Regions from separate parts of the Homo sapiens genome. Here all the other regions are linked to region 2. The links are contacts of gene promoters, found by promoter capture Hi-C in human tissues and cell types (Jung and others, 2019). All regions are on one chromosome and are shown on one strand. Each heading gives the region's core, a stretch centred on a gene start or on the middle of the fragment in contact. The rest is flanking DNA. Distances are from core to core; before and after follow the strand shown. Region 1 overlaps LOC101928080 (a long non-coding RNA gene). Region 2 holds the start of SFMBT2 (Scm like with four mbt domains 2). Region 3 has its middle 25 kb from the start of LINC02649.

Evidence for each region. The method cuts DNA at HindIII sites, captures the fragments that hold promoters and counts their contacts. A contact is called where the count stands out against the background at its distance.
Region 1: a fragment that was not itself captured here is called in contact with the fragment with the promoter of SFMBT2 in region 2 in 1 of the 25 tissues and cell types used here (dorsolateral prefrontal cortex).
Region 3: a contact is called between a fragment that was not itself captured here and the fragment with the promoter of SFMBT2 in region 2, in 1 of the 25 tissues and cell types used here (dorsolateral prefrontal cortex).

The regions. Positions count from the first base shown.
Region 1 is chr10:6,133,606-6,137,083 of GRCh38, reverse strand. The region is part of intron 1 of LOC101928080 (a long non-coding RNA gene); the gene reads left to right. Among named protein-coding and RNA genes, the nearest start is that of MIR3155A, 17 kb to the left of the region's middle. RefSeq lists enhancers at 212-511, 1,854-2,401, 2,402-2,950. The HindIII fragment of the contact is 7,054 bases long and covers 1-3,478 here.
Region 2 is chr10:7,409,493-7,412,923 of GRCh38, reverse strand. It overlaps SFMBT2 (Scm like with four mbt domains 2), which reads left to right and starts at 1,890. Exons shown (of 21, transcript NM_001387889.1): 1 at 1,890-2,063. RefSeq lists enhancers at 1-720, 721-1,641 and a silencer at 1,877-2,016. The HindIII fragment of the contact is 7,941 bases long and covers 1-3,052 here.
Region 3 is chr10:6,299,674-6,303,211 of GRCh38, reverse strand. It overlaps a transcript of PFKFB3 not described here. Among named protein-coding and RNA genes, the nearest start is that of LINC02649, 25 kb to the left of the region's middle. RefSeq lists an enhancer at 3,126-3,538. The HindIII fragment of the contact is 4,169 bases long and covers 1-3,538 here.

The DNA.
Region 1 (3,478 bases), core at 962-3,461, 1.3 Mb after region 2:
TTTGGGAGAAAGTCAGGAGAACTAGCCAAAGCTGCCAGAACTCTGGCCAAATTCACATCAGAGGGCGGCTCTGGCAAACTCAGGACGCTAGATCCGCATGGGGGCACCGCCTCTTGAGCCTGCTCCTTTGTCTCTTGAGTTACCTTAAGAGGCTGGGCAGGAGCTTCTGGCTCCCCCCGTGGAGGTCTCAACCTCACCCCCTTAGCTGCAGGGAAGGCTGGGGAAGTATCTGATGGTTTCAGCAGCTACTGCTGCCTCCATGGTAAGACATACCTAGTTATGAATAACTAACTAAAATAAGTCTGTAAGGTGGGGAATTCCCCAACCTAGGAAAGGAGCTCAGATGAGGAGCAAGAGAGAAAGAAGAGGGGATGGGGTGTGGAGAAGAGGAGAGGGTGCCTTTGGAGCAGAAGCCAGCCGTGGCAAGCACACGGGTTGGTCATCGCGGGTGTCCTCCACCACCCCAGGCTCCCTTGCCTCCCCTTGGACTGCTATCGGATCTAAAGAGGCTACTGAAAAAGAGGAGGCGCAAAACAGAGGCATGAGTTGTTCAAAGTCAAAGAACACAATGAGGGAAGAATTAGTCATTTCAGAACTGGAATGAAACTTACAGCTCATCTAAACCAGATGCCCCATTTTACAGAGGAATGAGGCATTCGCAGGCTAAATGACTCGTGCGGGTCCCCCAATAGCTGATGGCGAAGCTGTGAATTCAGACCCCCACTTCGCTTGAGCAGTGACGGGAAGCTGGTGACTTCAGGCTCTGGCAGGTCAGCCCGGGGTGCAGGGGGCGGCTCCTGGGCTCCTGCTCAGCAGGAGGTGGAGGGGGTCTCTCCCTTCCTGAAGCTTTGAGAGCTGGGGTGCTGAGTACATTCTTGGGCTGTTGGGTGACACCATTCCCCTCTCTGAGTCCCCCAAAGGAATAGCTTTGGCTTCCTACAGTTACAGGGCTTCCTATATTAAATCTCAGCTCTTCGAAACACCCAGAGTAGTTTATCTTGTTCCGACTGGACCCCAATTGAAACGGACAGAACACAAGGAAAAGAGCCCAGGATTTCAAGGTGGAACCTGGTTTTGCCACTTACCATTTGTGTGGCTTTGGGTAAGGCATGTAACTTTTCCACCTTAGTTTGTCCGTCTGTAAAGTGGGCATATTCATACTTCACATTAGGTCTATAGAATAGACATTTCATCAGGGTTGAATTTTTTATGTGCTTATATAAATGAATTTCTTTCTTTGTAGGGGTAAATGGGCTCAGATGGCTCAGAAAAAAAATACGCACTCGCACATGATACACACACACAGAATGATTTAGCAAATACATAGACAACTGGTGAGGAACAATTGGTCAGTGTGGGAGAAGAGGATAGAGGTGTTTTTCAGTTTGAAATTGTTTCAAAATAAATGCTTTCAGGGCCGGCATGGTGGCTCATGTCTGTAATCCCAGCACTTTGGGAGGCCAAGGCAGGCAGATCACCAGAGGTCAGGAGATCGAGACCATCCTGGCTAACACGGTGGAACCCCATCTCTACTAAAAATACAAAAATTAGCCGGGCATGGTGGTACACGCCTGTAGTCCCAGCTACTCAGGAGGCTGAGGCAGGAGAATCATTTGAACCAGGGAGGTGGAGGTTGCCGTGAGCTGAGATCGCACCACTGCACTCCAGCCTGCGCAACAGAGTGAGACTGTGTTTCTAAAACAAAACAAAACAAAAAAAATGCTTTCAGGAAAGAAGAGACAGCTGTGCTAATTTACATCTACTGAACTTCAATACATGTGCAATTTAATGCAGGGGATGTTCGTTTACTTTCTATTGCTATGTAGTGTTCTTTTTTTAAAAAAACAAAAAAACACACACACACACACACAGAAATTTTGTGGTTTAAGCCCCACCCCTTCATTAGCTCCCGATTCTGAAGGTTAGAAGTCACACTGCCTGCCTGTGGCTCTGCACAGACCTCGCCCAGCGGAGATCAAGGTGCTGACTAGCTGAGTTCTCATCAGGAACCTCTGGAGAAAACTCCACTTCCCAGCTCCTCCTTGTGGGCACAATTCAGTTCCTGTGGAGTGGGAATAGGGTCCCCATTTCCTCGCTGGCTGTCAGCGGGGTCACTCCTAGAGGCCACCCTCGTTCCATGCCACGTGGCTCCTCCTTCCGCAGGGGCAAGGGCAGGTTGGATCTTTCTCGTGCTTTGAACACTGATGTCTTCTTCTGGGTCCTGCAGGAGAAAGCTCTCTGCCTTAAAGGACTCCGGCCCCCAGCAATCTCCCATCTTACAGTCAACTCATGGGGACCTTAATTCCATCTGCACAGCCCTTCCTGGCAGCTCCTAGGTCAGAGCCGAGCTGAACACCTGGGAGGAGGCGCACACACGGGCCCAGGAACCTGGCAGCAGGCTGCTGGTGGGGGGCATGGGCTCCCCAAGGGCCCACGGTTGGCCTGGCCCAGCCCTAGCACAGCTGGTGTGCTGTGTGCACTCTTTCTGTCATCCTCCCCTCAAAACGCAGCTCCTACGTGCTGCCCTGGCTCTGGGGAAAGGTGATGAATTATCCTTTCTCCTCCATTCAGCTGAAGTTTCAGACATCAGGATTTCTCTCTAGGGAGAGGCTCTTTTCTTCTCTGTGGTGATGTCCCCGACAGAAGAAGAAGAGCGTTGTGTTGATTGTCCCGCCGTCCTGGCAACTCCACAACCAGGGGAGCAGGACAGTGCCCAGGACCCACAGGTCGGGCAGCCATCCCTTCCTTCATAAGGAACGAGGGGCCACAGGGAGGCTGTAGAGTCCGGGAAAGGCTCTTGCCAGCTGTTCACAGCGTCACTTGGGGCCTCCACAGCCCGCTGAGCCCAGGACAGTGTCACAGGGGAGACGGAGGCCCTGAGGACCCCAGAGCCGTCAAGCACGCTCAGCTGTTCCCTGTCCACTCTCAGAAAGCCCAGCCCCTGGCAAATATGCAACAGGTTTATTTTATTTTATTATTTTTTTTAATGTTGCAAAGAACCTTCATATAATTTTTTCCATAGCATCCTGACAAACTCTGGATTCAAGCGGAGGCAGCATTCACCCATTTCTCTGCCGACAAAGCTGGCCTCGGCCAGGGTAGTGACTTGCCCGGATTGCTCAGCCAGACCAGGGGCAGAGCCCCAACACCAGGTCTCCTGGCCGGCGCTGTGTCTCCTCCCGCCTCCATCCTCATCCGAAGGTTGGGACGTCACAGTCCTTGGAGGCTCGCTTAGCTGGGAACTGAGGACCTTCAATTTCAATGTACTGAGTCTTCATGACCTGCATAAGGCCGAGGAGCCTGGCTGCCTCTTTCCCAGAAATTAGTCTCAGTCTCCTGGGCCAAGTGGTTGCTTTCTACTGCATTGCGCTCCTGGAATCCTGGAATACGCTGCTGAATTCTGCAGAGGAAATCAGAGTCATGGTGACTTCAAATTAATCACATAAGCACTCCCAGAGAGAAACGGGATTCTCTGTGG
Region 2 (3,431 bases), core at 641-3,140:
GTGTCTGGAGCCCACACTCCAGATTTCTGGACGCCGCAGTCAGTCCAGCAGGTTCTACCTGGAGCCGCCTCGGGGCTCAACCGGGAGGCAGCGGGGTGCAGGCGAGAGGGTTAATGCGCCCGGTTCGGTTGGTTTGAGGAGTCTCTGCTTTCAGCGACCCACAGGGCAGAGAGCCCAGGGCTCCGGCTTGATGTCCCCAACAGCTGGGGACTGGAGAGCTGGAGGGGTCGCAGACTCAGGCTAGAGTTTAAAGTGCGCCGCGCGGCGAGTCGCTGGACTCTTCTGGGTCTCACGTGGCTCCTGTGTCACATGGAGTGACAGGCCGGCGGAAGGCGCTTTAGTCGTCGCCCAGCGTTCTCCAAGGTGTAAGGAGGCAGGATCTTCCCATACTGGCGGCGCAGGGGGCCTCACGGCTGCGGACGCCCGCCCTGGATCTCTCAGCTCGGCAGATCCTTTGGGTGGAGAGGCGCTCTCCAGGGTCGCGGCGAAGGAGAGCGGCTTCTCGGCACGTCCCTCCGTATTTCTTCTAGATCAGCTCCGGCCCCACCGTCCAGGAGAGGGCCCGCCTGAGGACCTCTGTCTGTGCCGCGCGTGGTCAGCCCCGGTCCCCTCACTCCATGGCTGGCCCCTAGCCCTTCAGAGCGGACACCTCTCCTTAGGGATGCAGGGCGAGGAAGGGCGGGTGGAGCTGCGAACCCACGGGGACCTGGAGGACCTCTTGGCCCCCTGGAGAGGGGTACTATGAGAGGGATTCATGGGACACAGATTTGGGGGACTGGGTAATTTTACCCCCTTTGGCAACCATAAAAACCCTGAGCAAACGTGTCCATTCGCTATTTCGCAGAAATATACAATGCAGGCCCACACAGGCATCTCTGCGAGGCCCCCTAGTTAAGGGCGCAGCGTTCTTCGGAAGCTCTTGGTCTTGCTACCAGGGCGTCACCGGCTTTTCCGCACTGGGGACATTTCGTTTGGGCTCTGCGCAGCCGTTGCACCTAAGGCCCTGGGAGCTCCGCGTTCCTCCCCAGGCGCCCGGGACAAAGTGCCCGAGGGCTCCGCAGACGTCCAGCCCTGCCCGGGGCTCACGGCCGCCGGGGCTCTCCAACGGACCGTCGAGGGCCACGTTTTGCTGGGGTGTGAGCGACGATTCTTTTCCCGCCCTATGAGGCCCGCCACTAGCTAGGTGCCCCATGAGACGCCGTGGCGAGCACGGCTACCTGGCAGCTCGCCCGGGCAGCCCCAACTTAATTTCCTGCCCCTCGGGGCACCTTTCCCTCGAATAGCTCTCCTCGGCCCCTCCAGCCCTGCCCAAGGGGCCTGGAAATGTTCGCAGCTTCAAGAAAGGCTCTATTTAAGCACAGGATGGGGTGGGGCGGGCGGGGCCAAGATTGCCCTGGGGATTGAATTTATCTCCGCTCCCAGCGATCCCCGGCGGATAAAGCGCAAGTTTGTGCACACGGTCGACTGAGCCATTGGAAACCCAGCTCACGAACCGCAGCCAGGGAAACGGGAGTTTGCCCAGTTGTCCTTGCGGAGGGGTGTGCGGAAACGCCCGCGATGGGAACTTTCTGCAGATCATGTATGGAGGGAGCTCACAAAAAGGAGGAAGGGGAGCGCGGTGGGGAGGAGGCCGCGTGGGCGTGGAAGGTCCCAGGGTCCTGGGGGTGCCCGCCTGCTTAGGCGCAGGGAATGGCGCGGAGCTGGCTGGGGAAGGAGCCGATCACGTCCCGCAGGCTAATTGGCTTAAGAAATTTTGCAAGCGCTGGAAAAGGTCGTTGAAGGAGTTCGCTGCACGCGCACGCACACACATACACACACACACAAAATCTTAAAAAAAAAAAAAAAAAAAAAAAAAAAAGAGCGCCGAGCATGCGCACAGAGAGGATGCCATATTGGAATGAGCTGTAGTGGGAGCCGGAGGACCGGAGCGGGCGCGCGAGGGAGGCGGCGGGCGGGGAGCGAGCGGGCAAGGGCGGGCGAGCGAGCAAGCGAGCGAGGCCGGTGCCCTCCCGGGCGGCGACCGGGGCCTGGGTCCACGCCGAGGGCAGGACGAACTTCACCAGGTAGGACGCCGCGCCGGCTGCTGTCCCCGGCGCCCAGGCTGGCCGGAGAGCAGCCCTTCGGCCCGCAGGTTGAGTGCGCTGGTCAGGGGCTTTTTCCAGCCTAGGAAAAAAAAGGAAAAAAAAAAAAAGGAAGGAAGCCTGAGGGAGCTGGGGTTGGAGGTGGCGGGTGGGGGAAGGCTGGGGAGGGTGCAGGGGAGCGAAAGAGAAGGGCAGGAGAAGAAAGCGACTGCACTTGAGCGAAGCTTCAAACTCCTCTGTGCGCTCCAGGTTGTCATTTTTGCTTCCCGGGTCCCCTTCGCCTGCGTCTCCGGGCTCGGAAAAGCCGAGCCGTGCGGGAGTCCGTCCGGAGTTGCAAAGTGTCCTCCTTCCCCGGGCGCAGCCTGTCCCCTCCCGCCGCCCACCTTCCTCGTTTCTGCACTCATTTTAGCGACGCAGCCGCCGCTGCTACCTACCCCGCGCTCCCGCGTCTCCTCCGCGCTGGGGTCTCCCCTTTCTTTTGGTTTGGGTGGGAGAAAAAGATGGTGAGGACGGGGAATCGGAGACCGGCATGGGGGTAAAAATCGTGCAGACATTCGGAATCGCTCCCTTGGAAACATTTGCCTGAGCAACTGAAATAAAATTGGCAGTAGTAGTTTTGGAGCGTGCTCCAGCGAGGATGGTCTTTTTGTTCATTATTTTCTCTTTAAAGTAATATCCTGTCACTTAGGGGCTTTCCGGTTGTCTCCTCTTATTCGACCCCCTTTCAAAATTGCTGACTTGAGCTGGTTCTGGAGTTTATTTTTTAATATGCGTGCGTGGGTATGTGTATGTGTGTGTATGTTTTGCAGAAATCCGCCAAAATGCAACTGTAGGAACTGCGAGATGTATTTATTGATTTTGACCAGGGGCGGTGGGAAGGGGCTGGAGGGAGCTGGGGGATCCTGGAGGGTGGGAAGTGGCTGATTCTCGGTGGCCGGACACTCATCCAGAGCCTGATCCGTACTCGTGTTTTCTTGGAAGCGCCACAACTGCGGGGAAGGAGTCTTTAGAAACCGTGCCAGTTTCAATATGGCGGGCTAAGGTGGCTTTTAAAAACTGAAAATAAAGGTTTTGAGGTGGGAAAAAACCCAGCTGAAGTTTCCACCCCTTAGTTTCGACTCTCTTTGGCTACCCCAGGAAGCGCTTTAGCGAATTAAGTGGGGAAAAAAAGAAGGAATGGGCTGTCCGGTTTTTTTTTTCCGTGGTTAGAGTCTGTGTGTCAAGTCCATTGCTAGGGGGGAAAGGGATGGAGAAGTGCCCCTGGCCCGGACCAGGGCACCGAAACGCAACTGTCGTGTGTGCCTGTGGATTAGTGTGCAGGCCTGCGTGTGCGCAGTTTTTTTGGGTGTG
Region 3 (3,538 bases), core at 499-2,998, 1.1 Mb after region 2:
GCATATACATATTTATCAGTCTTGTAAGCTTAGAGCAGTCCATAAATCATAAAAGAGTTTAGGGTGAATTTTAGAAGAGAAAAACAAAAATGAAGTAATAAACAAACAGTTGCTGACAAACAAATATTTGTGCTTTATAAAGCCAGTCCTACGCTTGATCTTACCCACATGCCCTGGACAGATGACAGGAGGCCTGAGTTCTCATCTCTGCTCCGCTCCTGTGTTATCTCACAAGAGTCATGACATCCCGTTACCTCGAGCGCCCTTTCTATGCATAAAGAAGGCACTGGGGAGACGCCATGTCCAAGGTGCCTTCCAACAGTCTGACAGTTTTTCTAAATTTCAAAGATGACTTTCTCAATGCAAAAGCCAAGAAAGATCACATAAAACACACACACACACAAATATATATATATATGTGTATGTGTATATGTGTGTGTGTGTGTGTGTGTGTGTGTGTGTATACACACACATATTTTTATTTTGGGCTCCCACCAGAAAGGAAGATAGGTATAGAAAAACCACAAGTATGGGCCGGGCACGGTGGCTCATGCCTGTATCCCAGCACTTTGGGAGGCCGAGGCAGGTGGATTGCCTGAGGTCAAGAGTTCGAGACCAGCCTGGCCAACATGGTGAAACCCCGTCTCTACTAAAATACAAAAATTAGCTGGGTGTGGTGGCAGGCACCTGTAATCCCAGCTACTTGGGAGGCTGAGGCAGGAGAATTGCTTGAACCCAGGAAGTGGAGGTTGCAGTGAGCCAAGGTTGCACCACTGCACTCCAGCCTGGGCAACAGAACAAGACTCCGTCTCAAAAAAAAAAAAAAAAAAAAAAAAAAAAAAAAAAAAACTGGCCAGGCACGGTGGCAGTGGCTTATATCTGTAATCCCAGCACTTTGGGAGGCCGAGGCAGGTGGATCGCCTGAGGTCAGGAGTTCGAGACCAGCCTGACCAACATGGTAAAACCCCACCTCAACTATAAATACAAAAATTAGCTGGATGTGGTGGCGCATACCTGTAATCCCAGCTATTCAAGAGGCTGAGGCAGGAGAATCGCTTGAACCTGGGAGACAGAAGTTGCAGTGAGCCAAAATCATGCCACTGCACTCCAGCCTGGGTGACAGAGCAAGACTCTGTTTCAAAAAAAAAAAAGAAAAAGAAAAGAAAAGAAAAATCGCAAGTATGTTACCTTCGTATAAATAACAAAGTTAGCTCACTTCTCTGTTTCCTCCTGTTAGGAAGTGGATAAAGCAAAATGATCATCCAGTCACTAACCTGTGTGGTGGGGAACTTACGAGGTTGGTTAGTCATTAATCAGAGCAGATAATAAAGCATGTGACTCTCAGCCCAGTTCTCTGCACTGGAATAATGTGATCCTCATTTCCTGAAATTTAGTCATAACGAAGGAAGTGATTTGAAATTAGCTTCTCTTATAAAGATAGAGGAATCCTGATGAATTAGAGCTCCCTTTCACCTGGGACTTGCCTCCATCACACTTGGCGATCCCCACACCGCCCTTTGAGCTGAGCTGCTCTTGAGGGCAGACGAACTGCCCTACTGGGTCAAGTTGTCATCAGTTACATCCATCAGTGCTTTCCAGAGAAAATAAAAGGGTACTTTCCTCAATCTATCTGTTATTGCAGTAAGTAAAAAACCTGAAAATCCAGATTAGCACAATTCATCTTCAATGAGGATTCTTCACTTTAGGAAACAATGTGCTTCTCTGGGGCACTAAAAACAAGTTTATTTCCAAAACAAATTTTGATCAATGCTCAACAGTTTTTAAGGATGTATCTCAAATGATCTAAGAATATGCATCGACCATTATTTATAAGTAAGGGTGAAGGAAATGCACCTTTATGAAGTCCCTGAAGCACCCAGGGACTGTACCAGATGCCTTACAGGTGTACATATGTACTAGGTATAAAGGTTAGTTTCCTAATCTAGGTATGTGTAAATCCTCATCTTACTTTATTTCCTTGAGTCAAAGTCAATTCCAAGTCACCATTCCATTGAGATAATGAAAAGCCCAATGGTGGATGCCTCCTCCTAGTCAACATCTCCCCCCAAATTATAGGAAGGCACACAGAGCAAGATATCATCTCATGTTCACATGGCCCACGAAGTCTGGCCATGCCAAGCTTGGGCAGAGGAATCTTCTGCAAGATGGCAGCTTCCACTGTTACGGACCAGCCTCCATGGTGCACCAGAAAGGCACTCCCCTCAGGTGTCCTCCCACCTTGCTGGATGTTGCCAAAAATAAAAGAACAAGATTCCTCTATTTCTGGCACCCACAGCTTCCTGTCTCCTTTCAAATCCTGCGTAATTACCCTTCTCTCAAAGGCAGTAGCTTCTCTCTAGTACCTACAGCATAATCGCCTCAAGAAACCAAGGCTTCCAGAACTCAAACCCAGGAAGGAATCTAGGAGGATTCCAGAAATCAAGCCCAGGAATGAATCAAACCCAGCTGCACTCAACTCTGGACTTCCACGGTGCCTCGCGAGACTGGCTTTGCTAAGGCAAGGGCTTCTGGGTGGAGTTAATAAGAAAGCAGCATGAAAAGGTGCTTTGAGACACGACACATCGTTTCCTGCTAACGATCAAAGAATATACACAGCTGTTCCCGTTTCGGAGCAGTTCTGGCCCCAGGAGAGAGTTGCTGAGTTGCTTTCTGGAAAAGCTGGCTTTGACTTTTCAAGGCAGCTCATGCTGCTAAAGGTTGCATAGGCACAGAGAGAGGGAGCTGCCGGGGGCATGGGGGAGCCTTCCCTGATGCAACTGAACTTGAGCTGAGCTCACTATGTCTCTAGAATCTACTACCTATTCCTATTCAATAAATACAAGTATTTATTAAACATCTGTTACGTGCCAGGTCCTGTGTCAAATGATGGAGGAAGTGAAAATGCGTAAGACACAGTCTCACTTTGAAGAGTTCTCAGCCTTGTGGGCAAAGGCAGGAAGGTTCATTGTGTGGCTTGAGTGCACACAGGGAGGCTTTAAAGAATGTGAGAGGAATATGAGGAACAGATGCTGCCCTGGAGTGACTCGCATCTCGCCCGAAGAGACAAACAAGGCACCCAACAACCACAGAACCAGTAAGTGCCAAACCATGGGTACTAACCCTAACTACAATGGGTATTCTGAAAAGGCAGAAAAAATTTAAGTGATCTTAGCATAATCAGACTTGGTGAGGCTTAACATTCCTCCCTCTTCACTAAAAAAAAAAAAAAAAAAAAAAAAAAAAGTCTTCTGAACAGGCACTGCACTAGGCTCTGGGAATGCAAGCCTAGGAAAGTCCAAATCGACGCCTTAAAATGTTCAGCAGACAGTGAAGGAAACATGGAGCTCCAAACCAGGGGCTAAGTGCCACCCTCAACACAGCTTCAGGCCTTCACTCTTCCCAGGAACTGGGGACTGTTTCAGAAAGGGGGTGCCATCTCTGCTGAGCTTTGAAGGAAGGGTAGAAGTTAGCCAGGGAGCAAGGTTGGAGGTAAGGGGTTCTAAGCCCAGGAGACGCCAAGAGTATAAAATTGGGTAAA